2 separate regions of the Homo sapiens genome follow, and region 1 is linked to region 2. Evidence: promoter capture Hi-C in 16 types of primary human blood cells and fetal thymus (Javierre and others, 2016). All regions are on one chromosome and are shown on one strand. The core of a region is centred on a gene start or on the middle of the fragment in contact, and the rest is flanking DNA. Distances in the headings are between cores, read along the strand shown. Region 1 overlaps RSRC1 (arginine and serine rich coiled-coil 1). Region 2 holds the start of RARRES1 (retinoic acid receptor responder 1).

Evidence for each region. Contacts are between HindIII fragments. The CHiCAGO score rates a contact against its expected background, and 5 or more counts as called.
Region 1: a contact is called between a fragment that was not itself captured here and the fragment with the promoter of RARRES1 in region 2, in 1 of 17 cell types (megakaryocytes). The highest score is 5.0, in megakaryocytes.

The regions. Positions count from the first base shown.
Region 1 is chr3:158,541,507-158,548,550 of GRCh38, reverse strand. It overlaps RSRC1 (arginine and serine rich coiled-coil 1), which reads right to left. Exons shown (of 10, transcript NM_001271838.2): 9 at 5,064-5,216; 10 at 2,821-4,368. The coding sequence ends at 4,276. It overlaps MLF1-DT (MLF1 divergent transcript), which reads left to right. Exons shown (of 5, transcript NR_104147.1): 5 at 2,974-3,331. Among named protein-coding and RNA genes, the nearest start is that of UC.134, 18 kb to the right of the region's middle. RefSeq lists a silencer at 5,974-6,191. The HindIII fragment of the contact is 3,134 bases long and covers 2,498-5,631 here.
Region 2 is chr3:158,727,790-158,734,333 of GRCh38, reverse strand. It overlaps RARRES1 (retinoic acid receptor responder 1), which reads left to right and starts at 1,877. Exons shown (of 6, transcript NM_206963.2): 1 at 1,877-2,194. The coding sequence starts at 1,919. LOC100287290 (a long non-coding RNA gene) reads right to left here and starts at 1,973. Exons shown (of 5, transcript NR_171782.1): 1 at 1,806-1,973; 2 at 297-383. RefSeq lists an enhancer at 1,425-1,925 and silencers at 2,003-2,062, 4,788-4,966. The HindIII fragment of the contact is 14,465 bases long and covers 1-6,544 here.

The DNA.
Region 1 (7,044 bases), core at 2,815-5,314, 190 kb after region 2:
CAATGATAGCCAAAATAACTTGGAAATATATCATGACAGCATTTTCTTTTAGAAAAAACTCACCAAATAGAGTTGAATATATTAATCAATGTCCATCCCTATGATAAAAGGTTAAGATAATTACAGAATTTACAGTGTTCTTTCTTATATCCATTTGTATTCCTGCTGTGCTCTACTGACTCAAATGTTTTCTTATGAAGAGTACTTACTTTTCCATTATTCTATAAAGGAGTTCCAAAGAGTAAGGCTTACAGGAGGACATTAAAAAATTGTGCAAATAATCCAAGCATTTTATCAGTTGAGTAATGGCCAAGAGTTTATTTAAAATCTCTTGTAATACTCACAAGGAATTTTGGGGTAGGGAAAGGAGGAAAGCAAAGAGTAACATGGGTGCAAGCCTTTGATATAAACTCATCTAGAGTTTAGTGGCTGAAAATGTCCTATGTCTTATTTCATTTCTAGTTTTTTTTTTACTATCTTATTTGCTTAAAGATTTTCACTTGATGCACAAATCAAAGGAAAATCTGGGGAGGGACCTAACCACAGGCAAATGAATTGTGTCTTTTAGTTCCCAAATGATGCTTTCTATAACAGTACAGAGTAGAAAAACAGAGAGTAATGGAACACACAGTGGTCTACATGGTTGTGCAAACCCTTACTGGCAGATGCAGTTCTTTTTTAGCGGCATTGAAAGTCTCTTTTCAGCTCCATTGCAGAATCTGTCGTCTTGGCTGACAAATGGCAGTAGGCAAGATTGTTGATGCTTGTGGCCAAATGAAGACTTATCTTATTCAGCTTATTCTCCACAAAAAGAAAGAAATAGAGAGTCAGAGGGGTACTAGGAACCTGAAATTTTGCCTAGATTTTTGATAAGATTGACTGAGCAGGGCCACTTGGGTATTTCATGAGAGGTACTCTGTCCTAGGTTAAAACTGCAGTAGTTCCCAGCCTTCTAGAATAGCTATCAGGAAGATATAAGTGGGTGACTGAGAGTTCCTATGGCTCCAGCTTTCTTGTCCTTCAAGACTCAGTTTGATTGATTTCTTCCATGAAGACTTCCTTAATTTTCTAACTTACAGTAATTTCTCTCTTCTTTGCAACCAAGTCCTCTCCTCTGCCACTAAGTACTATATCTCTGACATCATTTACATGTCTGGGCTTCACAACTAAGCCTCTTGAGGGCAGGATCTCTACTGGATTCAGGTATGCATCCCCCAAGCACATCTTACTGTGCCCAGCATGAACTAGGTACTCAAAATGATATTCATGAATAAATGGGTAAATCTGACTGTAAAGAAGAACTGAGATTTCTCAAATAAGTAGATGGTAGGTCACTAATTGCAGAGTAAGTAAGGTTTCTTACGACCTTGGCAGGGAAGAAGAGCAGGGAAGGCTGAGGAAATCGCTGGAACGGCAACTATTGACCATGGCAGCTCAAGCACACACATAAACACATTCAAGTTGGAGTGTAGCAACTATTTGTTCCACATTTCACTAAGATGTCTATCATGTCAAATGTTCCCTTGGCATAAATAGCAGAAGTTTCTATGAAGGGCTTTCTTTTATGTCATTTTACTGAAAAATCAAAGTAGGCAGGTCTGCAATTAGTATCCTCATTTCACATGTTAGGATGCTGAAGCAAAGGAGGTGAATGATTCAAAGTATTCTGTGCTCATATCTTTAGCTCTTTGACTCCTCATAACTAGAGAGTGCCAGGAAAAATGCTCTTATTTCATTTTCCTTGAGAATATACTTACTTGTCAGAAATGAAAACTCAACCTGTATTATCAGTACCCATCATTTTGTAAGAAATCAATGTTTCGTAAAACACTTAAGGTCTCATGTATGTCCAAATTATTATCATTAATCAAGTGACATGAAAGGAATTATTCTGTTTTATAGACTCACCATATAAGGATATTAAAGAAGGCTAGCTTGAATTAGGCAATATGTTTGATCATGTTCTATGCAGTCCTTTTTATTAAATTTGATTTGGCTTGTGTGGTAATATTGTGGTCTTTGATAGGAATGCAGGTAAACGAAGTTAATAATATATAAAAATGAATCATGTTGAAAACTAGGGAGGAAGGAAGTAGTTACCGAATTCCTGTAGGGACCATAGTTTAGTTCATTAAAAAAATTTGATTTTCGGCCAGGCATGGTGGCTCATGCCTGTAATCCCAGCACTTTGGGAGGCCGAGGTGGGTGGATCATGAGGTCAAGAGATCGAGACCATCCGGGCTAACACGGTGAAACCCCGTCTCTACTAAAAATACACACACAAAAAATTAGCTGGGCATGGTGGCAGGCGCCTGTAGTCCCAGCTACTCAGGAGGCTGAGGCAGGAGAATGGCATGAACCTGGGAGGCGGAGCTTGCAGTGAGCCGAGATCGCACCAATGCACTCCAGCCTGGATGACAGAGTAAGACTCTGTCTCAAACCACCGCCCTCCCCCCCAAAAAAAACCCCAAAAAACAATTCTGTCACAGTTCAAGCTTCTGTATTTGGGGTACTTGCCACAGAGGAACACTGGTATTAAATATAATTGAAGTAGACCAGATTTTCACTGTTTTATAGATAAGGAAGATCAGGGATATTGAGAAAACTGCCTAGCCCAGGTCCTCTGGAGAATCATTAGTGGCCCAAATGATAACCCATATTCTTGCCCAGACCACTAACATATACTTTCCAATAGGGTGATAGTACTTCTATAGTTTATAAGTTATACAAAGTATGAAATAAAAATATTTCATAAACTGTAACCCCTTTTTAAGTCACTAAAATTGTATACATCTATGTTAAAAACCACACAAATCTCGGTTCATTTGGGGCACTTTTATTTACAGCCAAGGAAAAAAGAAAACTAGCATCTATTTAGAATGGGAAAGCATGTTTGTATGAAAACAAATATTTCATCATCACTTATTTTCTATACTGTTTGCAACTAAGTTTTACATTTTTCATTTTCAACAGAGATTTGAATTTTAATGTCCCAGAAATATAAAGAAGATGGCATTAAAATGTCCTATATGTTGGCAGTCCTACCCTGAAGACTTTTTTTGCTTATCTTTTGTTCTGAGCTACAGTCTTCGCAGAGACTAAATTAGTGACTGGACAACAGAAGAAAATAGACCATCCTGGCTAAAATGGTGAAACCCCATCTCTACTAAAAACACAAAAAATTAGCTGGGCATGTTAGCGGGTGCCTGTAGTCCCAGCTACTCGGGAGGCTGAGGCAAGAAAATGGCGTGAACCTGGGAGGCGGAGCTTGCAGTGAGCTGAGATCGCGCCACTGCACTCCAGCATGGGGGATAGAGCGAGACTCCGTCTCAAAAAAAAAAAAAAAAAAAAAAAAAAGAAAATAGAAACGGGAAATATTCATGTCAGCTGTTAAAAACCAGTTTTGTAAAGCAAGGCCTAAAAGTCCTATCTCTGGCATGTTTAGTATGGAACGTATAGTTGATTGTCATTCAGCTACTAGAGAAAGGTATTCTACAATGGCAGATAGCCTTATCAAAACAATTAGCCGGCTTTCTCCACAGGGAATAGCAGTGGGGTAAGTAAGACTGAAGTGAGAGCTCTTATCAGTTTTCTCAGAAATGATTTCTCCATCATAGGTATTTGGCCAACTGGTTAGGTCTAGCATGAACATGTGATTTCTAAAACAATGAGCTGAGATCTGCTAACATGTTGTAAAGGAGCATCTAGTAGAAGCTGATCTCTAAGCAAAATCACCAATTTATTTAAGTTTCAAAAATTTTTTTTCCATAAATATGTTCTTTAACATGCACATTCTGCTTACATTGTTTAGGGTGCTTTTTATTGTGCCTAAAAATTTGCAATATGGTGAAATAAAATATTTAAAAATGGTTGAATACCATACGGAAGATGAAATCTCATATTTATAGCATGTAATTCAATTCTCATGTATGCATAATTAATCAAAATTGTGTCTTTAAATGACATCTTGACATTTTTTGAATTGCACTAAGAAACACTAGTGTCTACCATTCATTTTAACAGACTTATTTATGTTTAGCTTTATTAACAGTATAACATTTTCATGCAATCTTAAATTTTGTTTTAATTTTTACAATGTTTGATTTAATTCAAATTAACAAATATTCAAGCCTACATGAGAGACAAATGAAATGAGACTACCTTTATATATAATCAGCAAAATTCTTTTTAAGAGTAAAAAGTTAATATTGGGATTTAAAAACCTAAATTTCCAATGTTACTGCTGACAATCCAATCCAACTATATGTATATTACTTAGGCCACAGGACTGCCCATTAGTCTTTCTTGTCGGAGAGCAATTAATCTCTTGAACCATTTTTCCTCAGCATCAGCTTTCTCGATAAATAACTGAAATAAGAAAAGAAAAAGAAAAAATGTTACTGTCTCCCAATAACTTGAATTTGACCTAAAATGACAGAACTCACCTTTGTAGAATATATCTCTCAACACAAGATTTGGATACTGTTTAACTCTTGATGACCTCTTAATTGATGACTATCTATTTGGAATTAGTAATGCTCAGAAATTCTTGGAGTAAAAGAACTACTAGTATCAACATCATTGCTTAACAATTTTGTACCTTATATTTGTGAAGTTTATTTCCTATAACTTTTCCAAAACAGCAGAATTACAACATTTCATGGAAGACAGCAAAGTATGATGTTAGTGATGTGCTCACTGATAATGAACAAAGTAGAGCTCAGAAATGGAACTTTTAGTGCTAGATTTTTAAACAAACACTTCTCATGGTGCTGATCAATTCAGCTAAAAAAAAAAAAAAGGAAAAAATGCTTCTCTTTGTCTATTTTTCTTAACCATAGACAGAATACTTCTACAGGTTAGGCAACATGAGTTGGACCCTACTGTATTCAAATATAGATAACAGTTCTAAAGGCCTGGGGGCCAGATGCCTATTTTTAGCAAGGGAATATGAACCTGTTTCCTCCAATGGTCTCCTTGGTGTTAGCACAAAAGGATAACAGATTGAAATAATTTCAGTAAATTAGACTTCAACTGACATTCGTAAAGTTTAAGGATATTACATTTGGATGGGCCAGGGAATTGTCATCTTGGTACTTGATAGCAGTAGGGATGCTGGTAGGATCTATTTCTTTTTCAGTACTGGGTGGATCAGCAACTGCTGATGCTGGTCCTGATGTTGAAGTTGCTTGTTTCACTTCACTAGGTTCCACTGACTGAAAGAAACAACACATATTAATTTCAACACAATACACAATTAGAGTTTTACTTCAAAAATATTTCTGATTTTGAATAACAACTGTTCAATTAGTCTCCTTTGAGATGATACCCATCTCCAAAAAGGCCCTACTTTTTGTATTTGTTTGTTTTAGAAATACAGTTATTTTATTTTTATATTTGTTTGTTTAGGAATAACTATATTTAGGAATATAGTTATAGATATATAGAAATAGAATATAGGAATAACTATATTGTATTTGTTTTAGGAATAACAAATAGAAAAATGCTGAGAAAATGTCAATCATTTCTTATGATAAGCACATTTTTCTTAAGAAATTGGTACTTACGTGCCTATACTATTGAAATATACATATATTTCATATATCTAAATTCTATTAATCAAAACAAGCTTACAACAAATATCCAACATTTAGTTGGCCAATTTAGGTATGAAAAGTAAATTCAAAGGTTATCTTTAGAAAAATAGCCTTATTGAGTTATAGAATTCATATACCATACAATTTACCCTTTTAAAGTACATAATTCAATGGCTTTTCACATATCCATGGAGTTGTGCAATTATTACCAGAATCAACTTTAGAACATTTTCATCATCCCCCACAAAACCTCATACCATTAGCAATCATTCCCCATTCCTTCCAACCTTTCCATCCTAGGTAACAATTAATCTTCTTTCTCTATGGATTTGCCTATTCTAGACATTTCAGATAAAAGGAATCATACAATATGTGGTCTTTCATGACTGGTTCTTTCATTTAGCATAATTTTTTCTTTTGAGACAGAGTCTTACTCTGTCACCCAGGTGGGAGTGCAGTGGCACAATCTTGGCTCACTGCAACCTCTACCTCCTAGGTTCAAGTGATTCTCCTGCTTCAGCCTCCCGAGTATCTGGGATTACAGGTGCACACCACCATGCACACTCGGCTAATTTTTGTATTTTCAGTAGAGACGGTGTCTTGCCATGTTGGCCAGGGTGATCTCGAACTCCTGTCCTCAAGTGATCAGCCCGCCTTGGCCTCCCAAAGTGCTAGGATTACAGGCGTGAGCCACCGTGCCCAGCCACATAATGTTTTTAAGGTTCATCCATGTTGCAGCATGTATCAGTACTTCATTATTCTTTATTGCTAAATAATGTCCCATTGTATGGATCTACCACATTTTATTTATCCATTCATCAGTTGATGAACTCAAAGGTTGTCTCGGAGCTACTTAAAATATTAAAATATATATATAAAAGTTTGAAAAAAAGGTACGATGTATCTTTGGCAAAAAATAAAACTCTAGGATTTCTTATACCATCATGCAAACCATAGACTCCCAATTTATTCCACCTTTACTGAGTATTCACCAGGTGCGATACACTGTACCAAGTGCTGGGGATACAACTAATAAATCATTGTTTCTGCCTTGAAGGAGCCAGCAGAGTAGTGCTTACTTAGTTACATTTCAGTAGCTTCTTCCCTAAGAAAGAAGGCCAAGGAGTGACTGATTAGCAGTAAGGTTACAGGGATAATATGAAATGGATTAGATCAGAAGCTGAAATTAAAAAGTAAAATTAAAAAAAAACAAGATGAATAGGAGATTGTTATGTAGCCTTTTTTATACCCATTTGTTCCACACCTATTGTTTTTCAATTTCCATTTATTTTAACTTATCTATAATTCTGAACATTTCACTTCTCTGAACAAAGCCAAAAACAGATGTCACTAAGAAAAATATACAGAGGATAAAATATGCATGAATTAAACTGTTCTTAGGTTAATTTGTTTTAGAGTTGGAGATCCATTTATTTAACCAGTATTT
Region 2 (6,544 bases), core at 628-3,127:
GCTGGATTTTCTTGCTTTTCTTCAAACATGCCAGATAGGCTCCTGCCCTAGCCTCTGCACTTGCGTTCCCTCTGCCTACAGTGCTTTTGCATACATGTCCACTTGGCTCTGCCTCCTTCAGGTCCTCACCCAAATATTACCTCCCGAGAGAGGCCTGCCCTGACCACACCTTTTAAGATTAACCACCTCCCAACTCCCCATTTCTTTTTCTGGCTTAATTTTTCTCCCTGGCATGTAACTTCATCCAATATAGCACACATTCCCTTGGCCTCACTGAGTGTCCGGGCCCCACTTGCCTAGAAGGTGTGCTCCAGGAAGGCAGAGATGTTTAAGATTGTTCACCCTCATTCCCCCAGGGCCTGGCACAGGTGTTTCACAATTATCTGCAGAAGGAAGGAAAGACAGACAAGGGACAGACAACAGCCAGAGGAAGAAGTGCAGTAAGACAGGATCTTTCCAGAGATGGCACCACGCCCATCAACCCACAGGCTTTGCTCACCATGCAGAACTGGCACATGCCCACTCTCAACCACCCACTGGCAAAAAGAGATTTCCTTTAGCCCCACAATGGCACTGGGGTCCACGTTTGGTGCAGGGGTAGACCCCTGAACAAAATGCAGGATGGAGAAATGGATGTTGGGAGTGCCTAGCAGTACCAGTTCTCCTCTCTCAGCCCTGGTTCTCCAGGACTTTTTCTCTTGCCTACGGTTTAAAAACAATGGCTATCTTAGCCCTTCACTGCCACCTGTCTAAAAAGAGTTGCCGCCGGGTACCGTGGCTCACGCCTGTAATCCCAGCACTTTGGGAGGCCCAGGCGGGCGGCTCACGAGGTCAGGAGTTTGAGACCAGCCTGACCAACATGGTGAAACCCCGTCTTTACTAAAAATACAAAAATTAGCCGGGCATGGTGGCTGTAGTCCCAGCTACTCGGGAGGCTGAGGTAGAATTGCTTGAACCTGGGAGGCGGAGGTTGCAGTGAGCCAAGATCGTGCCACTGCACTCCAGCCTGGGAGACAGAGCAAGACATGGTCTCAAAAAAAAAAAAAAAAAAAAGAGTTGCCAACACTTGCTGCCTCCATTCCCTGAAGCCCCATCCATGCCTCACCCCGCTGGAATCCGACTTCCATCCCCGGCCTTTAAATCTGCCTCGCACAGTGGTTATCAATGTATCAATGACCTACTTGCTTCTGAGACAAATGGGACTCTCAGGCCTTATCTTACCCTGCCTTGCTGCCCACTCCTCCCTCCTCGGCGCCTCTTCTGGGCAGGACCGGCAGGTGTTCAGGCCCGTCCCCAGCCCCTGGCTCCGGCGTCCCGGGCTCCCTGCCGGCATCCACCTTCACCTCCTCCCCAGCCCCAGCCCTCTGGCGACTTCTCCCACCTCCACAGTGGCTGTGCCACGAGGAGCCCCATCAATGCCCGCTGCGGCCTGCCCCTTTCTCCGCCGTCCCCTTTCACCTGCTGGGAAATCACAGCCCTAATGCTTGGAGAATCCAAGCAGTTTCCCTCTAAAACCCCAGGGTTGCGAAACCGCAGGGGAAACGCCAAGTCCCTGAGCTGGGCTAGGGACGCGGTACGAGGTAGCACGGGCGGGCCGCGATTCCTCGGGGAGGCGTCCCCATTGTCCCCCCAACCCCGACCCTCTCCCGCCGCGGCCTGGGCCAGAAGCACCCGGCCCTGCGCTGCGGAGGCGATGCCGCATCCTAGCACTAAGCCCGGGCAGCGGGGAGGGGCAGAGAGAACCCAGGGGCTGCGGGAAACGTGGAAAAGGAGTGGCCCCATGGGGACCCGGGCTCGCTACAGACCTTCGCCCTGGGGGCGGAGGGGAGGGGCCCACCACGGCCTTATTTCCGCGAGCGCCGGCACTGCCCGCTCCGAGCCCGTGTCTGTCGGGTGCCGAGCCAACTTTCCTGCGTCCATGCAGCCCCGCCGGCAACGGCTGCCTGCTCCCTGGTCCGGGCCCAGGGGCCCGCGCCCCACCGCCCCGCTGCTCGCGCTGCTGCTGTTGCTCGCCCCGGTGGCGGCGCCCGCGGGGTCCGGGGACCCCGACGACCCTGGGCAGCCTCAGGATGCTGGGGTCCCGCGCAGGCTCCTGCAGCAGGCGGCGCGCGCGGCGCTTCACTTCTTCAACTTCCGGTCCGGCTCGCCCAGCGCGCTACGAGTGCTGGCCGAGGTGCAGGAGGGCCGCGCGTGGGTGAGTGCGGAGCGACGCGCCGGGGCACGCGCCTGCCTGTCCGCGCACGGCGCTGGGAGGTGACACCTGGGTACGCGCGCCTGCCGGCCCAACGGATGGTCCGCCAGGGAAGGTGCAGTGCGCACGACGCCCGGGGAGATCCCAGCTGGGCCTGGCGCCCCTGAAGTATCCCAGGGCGTGGAAGGGGCCCCTTCGGTGCACAGCGTCTGCAGAAATCTGGCTCGTTCCTTCCAGCATTTATGAGGTCATAGGTTTTTCACAGGGCAGCGCTCTTGACTGCTCCCACACCTGGGAAAGAGATGCTTTGGGAAATTGAGGAACAGGCTGAAAGGGCAACATTTAATTTTGTCCGGAGGTACCCAGAGTTGGTTGCTATGGGGGTGCTTACTGTGCCTGCGCCCTACTAGTGGCTGCAGCCAAAGTTTTGGGCGGGATTTCCAAAATCTAAGCCAGTAGCCATACCATACCGCGGACGACTGTCTCTTGTTAATTGCAGTCCACCACGCTAGGGCTTCGGGGTAATGTGGTTGGAATTTACACGTAGGCCTGGGCAGAAACCTGCTAATGCTGGCGTCTGATTTGATCTAATTAGAAGTGAGTGAATCCGAGCCCAGTGTTCTATATGAACCGAATGAATGAGAACTTTGCAACCCGTTGTTTGGTTGCTGATTTCAAGGCATTGACTGTAGGAATTGTCTCGTATGTGTGAAGCTACTTTGCGTTCTTCATCCTATAGATTACAAAAGTTACAGAACTACACTAAGTCTGTCCCAAAAGCAAAGTTGCTCCTTCTACAACCTCCAGATATTCCACAAAGCCTGCAGACACACGGCCTCAAAGAATCTGGAATTGAGTATCGCATGTATTTAATAAATAGGTCGAGTTTTAAAGTGTAGCAGCAGGATTTTCATTTAACAGTGCCAAACGCCTGGAAGCAAACACCATTGGAAAGTCCTTCAAGAAGCTCAGCCTCGGTTCTTCAAAACTTATTCCTGTACCCGGCACGGCTGTATTTATTGAATGATTAAATCAAATTGTTCCTAGAAAAAGGCAACCTGGCCAGGCACGGTGGCTCACGCCTGTAATCCCAGCACTTTGGGAGGCCGAGACAGGTGGATCACCTGAGGTCGGGAGTTCGAGACCAGCCTGACCAACATGGAGAAACCCTGTCTCTACTAAAAATACAAAATTAGCTGGGTGTGGTGGCGCATGCCTGTAATCCCAGCTACTTGGGAGGCTGAGGCAGGAGAATCGCTTGAACTTGGGAGGCGGAGGTTGCGGTGAGCCGAGATTGCGCCACTGCACTCCAGCCTGGGTAACAAGAGCAAAACTCCCTCTCAAAATAAAATAAATAAAATAAAATAAAATAATAAAGAAAAAGGCAACCTGCTGGGGCATGGTGGCTCACGCCTGTAATCTCAGCACTTTGGGAGGCCGAGGTGGGCAAATCGCTTGAGCTCAGGAGTTGTAGACCAGTCTGGGTAACATGGCAAAGTACCATCTCTGCCAAAAATAAAAAAAATTAAAAATTAAAAAAAAATTAGCCGATGTGGTGGCGTGGGCCTGTGGTCCCAGCTACTCAGGAGGCTGAGATGGGAGGATTGCTTGAGCCCAGGACCCCAGGACCTGGAGGTTGCAGTGAGCAGAGAATGTGCCACTGCCCTCCAGCCTAGGCAACAGAGTGAGACCCTATGGGGAAAAAAAAGAGAGAGAAAGAGAGAGAGGAAGGAAGGAAGGAAGGAAGGAAGGAAGGAAGGAAGGAAGGAAGGAAGGAGCAACCTATTCTTGTCACCTGTCTTTGTTTTTTTTTTTTTTTTTTTGAGACAGAGTCTTGCTCTGTTGCCCAGGCTGGAGTGCAGCGCTGCGATCTCGGCTTACTGCAACCTCCGCCTACCAGGTTCAAGCGATTCTCCTGCCTCAGCCTCCTGAGTAGCTGGGATTACAGGCACGTGCCACCACGCCTGGCTAAGTTTTCTATTTCTAGTAGAGACAGGGTTTCACCATGTTGGGCAGGCTGTTCTCGAACTCCTGACCTCGTGATCTGGCCGCCTGGGTCTCCCAAAGTGCTGGGATTACAGGCATGAGCCACCGTGCCGGGCCATCTTGTCACCTGTCTTAACAATCCTTGCTGTCTGAGATACAAAAAAGTTCAGTTTTCCTAGTCCAACAGAGCAGTGAGATAACGGACCTTGAGAACTTTCTATCAAGGTAGAAGAGTAGTAGCCAATGCCCAGAGCCTAAAGAAGGGGCGTCTAAGGATTTGCTCCCTGGTTACCAGGGGCAGGATTCCCTGCAGAAAACCAAGCTCACTCAGATTTCTAAGGTACACCAGTTTTCAATCCCAGAGATTTTTTTTCCCCTTCCAAACCATTTTAAAAAGGAATAATAGGCTGGGCGCGGTGGCTCACGCCTGTAATCTCAGCACTTTGGGAGGCCGAGGTGGGCAGATTACAAGGTCAGGAGTTCAAGACCAGCCTGGCCAAGATAGTGAAACCCCTTCTCTACTAAAAATACAAAAAGAAATTAGCCGGGCATGGTGGCAGGCACCTGTAATCCCAGCTACTCGGGAGGCTGAGATAGAGAATTGCTTGAACCCGGGAGGCAGAGGTTGCAGTGAGCCAAGATGGTGCCACTGCACTCCAGCCTGGGCAACAGAGCGAGACTCCGTCTCAAATAAATAAATAAATAAATAAAGGAATAATAAAATAACTTGCATTATCATGCACTTAGTCACCCCCTTGAAAATAAAATAAGATATTTGACATCCTTCATAAAATAATCAAACTAGCTCTCAAAACCCGAGTGAATAAAGTAAAAATTCCCAGCCCCTGCATTGCTCCAGTGAGGATGCAGGGGCTGGGAATTTTATATAAGTTACATAAATCTTAAAGAGGTCTTAAACATCATTTAGTCCAATGGCTTTGGGAAAGGTTATTTAAGTCTTTTCTGGCTATTTCCCTGTTTGGAATGGAAATAATTCATGTTCTGCCAACAATGTCAGGTGGTCTAAGGAGTCATATAAGATATGAGTGCCAATTAGAAAGTATAAAAATGTGAGTTCAGGGGTAGTCTGTTCATCCATTAGCTATGTATTGAATGCTTACTCTGTGCCAGGAACTGGGCTAGAAGTGTGGCCTAATTCATATTTAGCATAGGGTCATTAGGGAAGGCCTCTTTGAGATTCCCTCAGTTTTGAAGCACTCCACTGCCTGAGTGAAGAGTGTAGACACACCTACATGGAGCTTTCAGTGTAGTCATAAGAAATTCCTGCCTCCATTATAAGAGCAGTCATAGCACTGGGGAGAAGTAAAACATGGGCCAGGCGCAGTGGCTCTCGCCTGTAATCCCAGCACTTTGGGAGGTTGAGGCAAGCAGATCACTTGAGGTCAGGAGTTCAAGACCAGCCTGGCCAACATGGTGAAACCCCATCTCTACTAAAAGTACAAAAATTAGCCAGGCATGGTGGTGCGTGTCTATAATCCCAGCTACACAGGAGGCTGAGGCATGAGAATCACTTGAACCCGGGAGGCAGAGGTTGCAGTGAGCAAAGATCATGCCACTGCACTCCAGCCTGGGTGACAGAGCGAGAATCTGTCTCAAAAACCAAAAAAAAAAAAAAAAAAGAAAGAAAAAGAAACCACGATTGATCCCTCCAAACTCAGGTTTGCACTCTACCCAACCAGTGCATTGTTGGACTGAGTGCTCAGCTGCTGCACAATGTCTATCATCCATCCAGAACTGACCCTGAGGGGCGAGCAGGTAGCCAGGTAAGGAAGAGAAGTGTAGTTCATGGGTATCCCTCCCAATTCTAGGGGTCACTGCATTCCTTTGTAAGATGAGAGGCTGAGATGAAGTCAGGGTTTTTCAAACTAAGGGCTCACTAGGGTTATAAAGCCAATTTAGTGTGGGATCCGGTTTTTTTTTTTTTTAAACGAAATAGTATAGACTACAAACGATTAGAGTGTATTGCGAAAGCAAGGGTAAGTAGTGTCTCCAAATGTGTTTCAGATATATATGTATGACCTAGGTCATAATGAGAAATTCAGTTCTTGCTGTGGGCTGCAGCTTTAAAAAGTTTTGAAAGCCTTTAGACTAAATGATGTTTAAGACCTCTTCTCGCGCTGAAATTCTTTGATTCTGTGAGCTGTTGGCGCGTCAAGTTATCTTTCATTTTAAAAATACTGTTGCCCTCTGGTGGTGAAATGCAGCAATAGCTGTGGTAGTAAATTCAAGGAAGAACTAAGTGCTAGCTGGAGGTGGGTGGAGTGGAGTGGAGGAAGTGTTGTTTTGTTTTGTTGCTAATTGTAGGCGAAATCACAGACCACGATTTGTGTTCCCTCACTGCCCCCA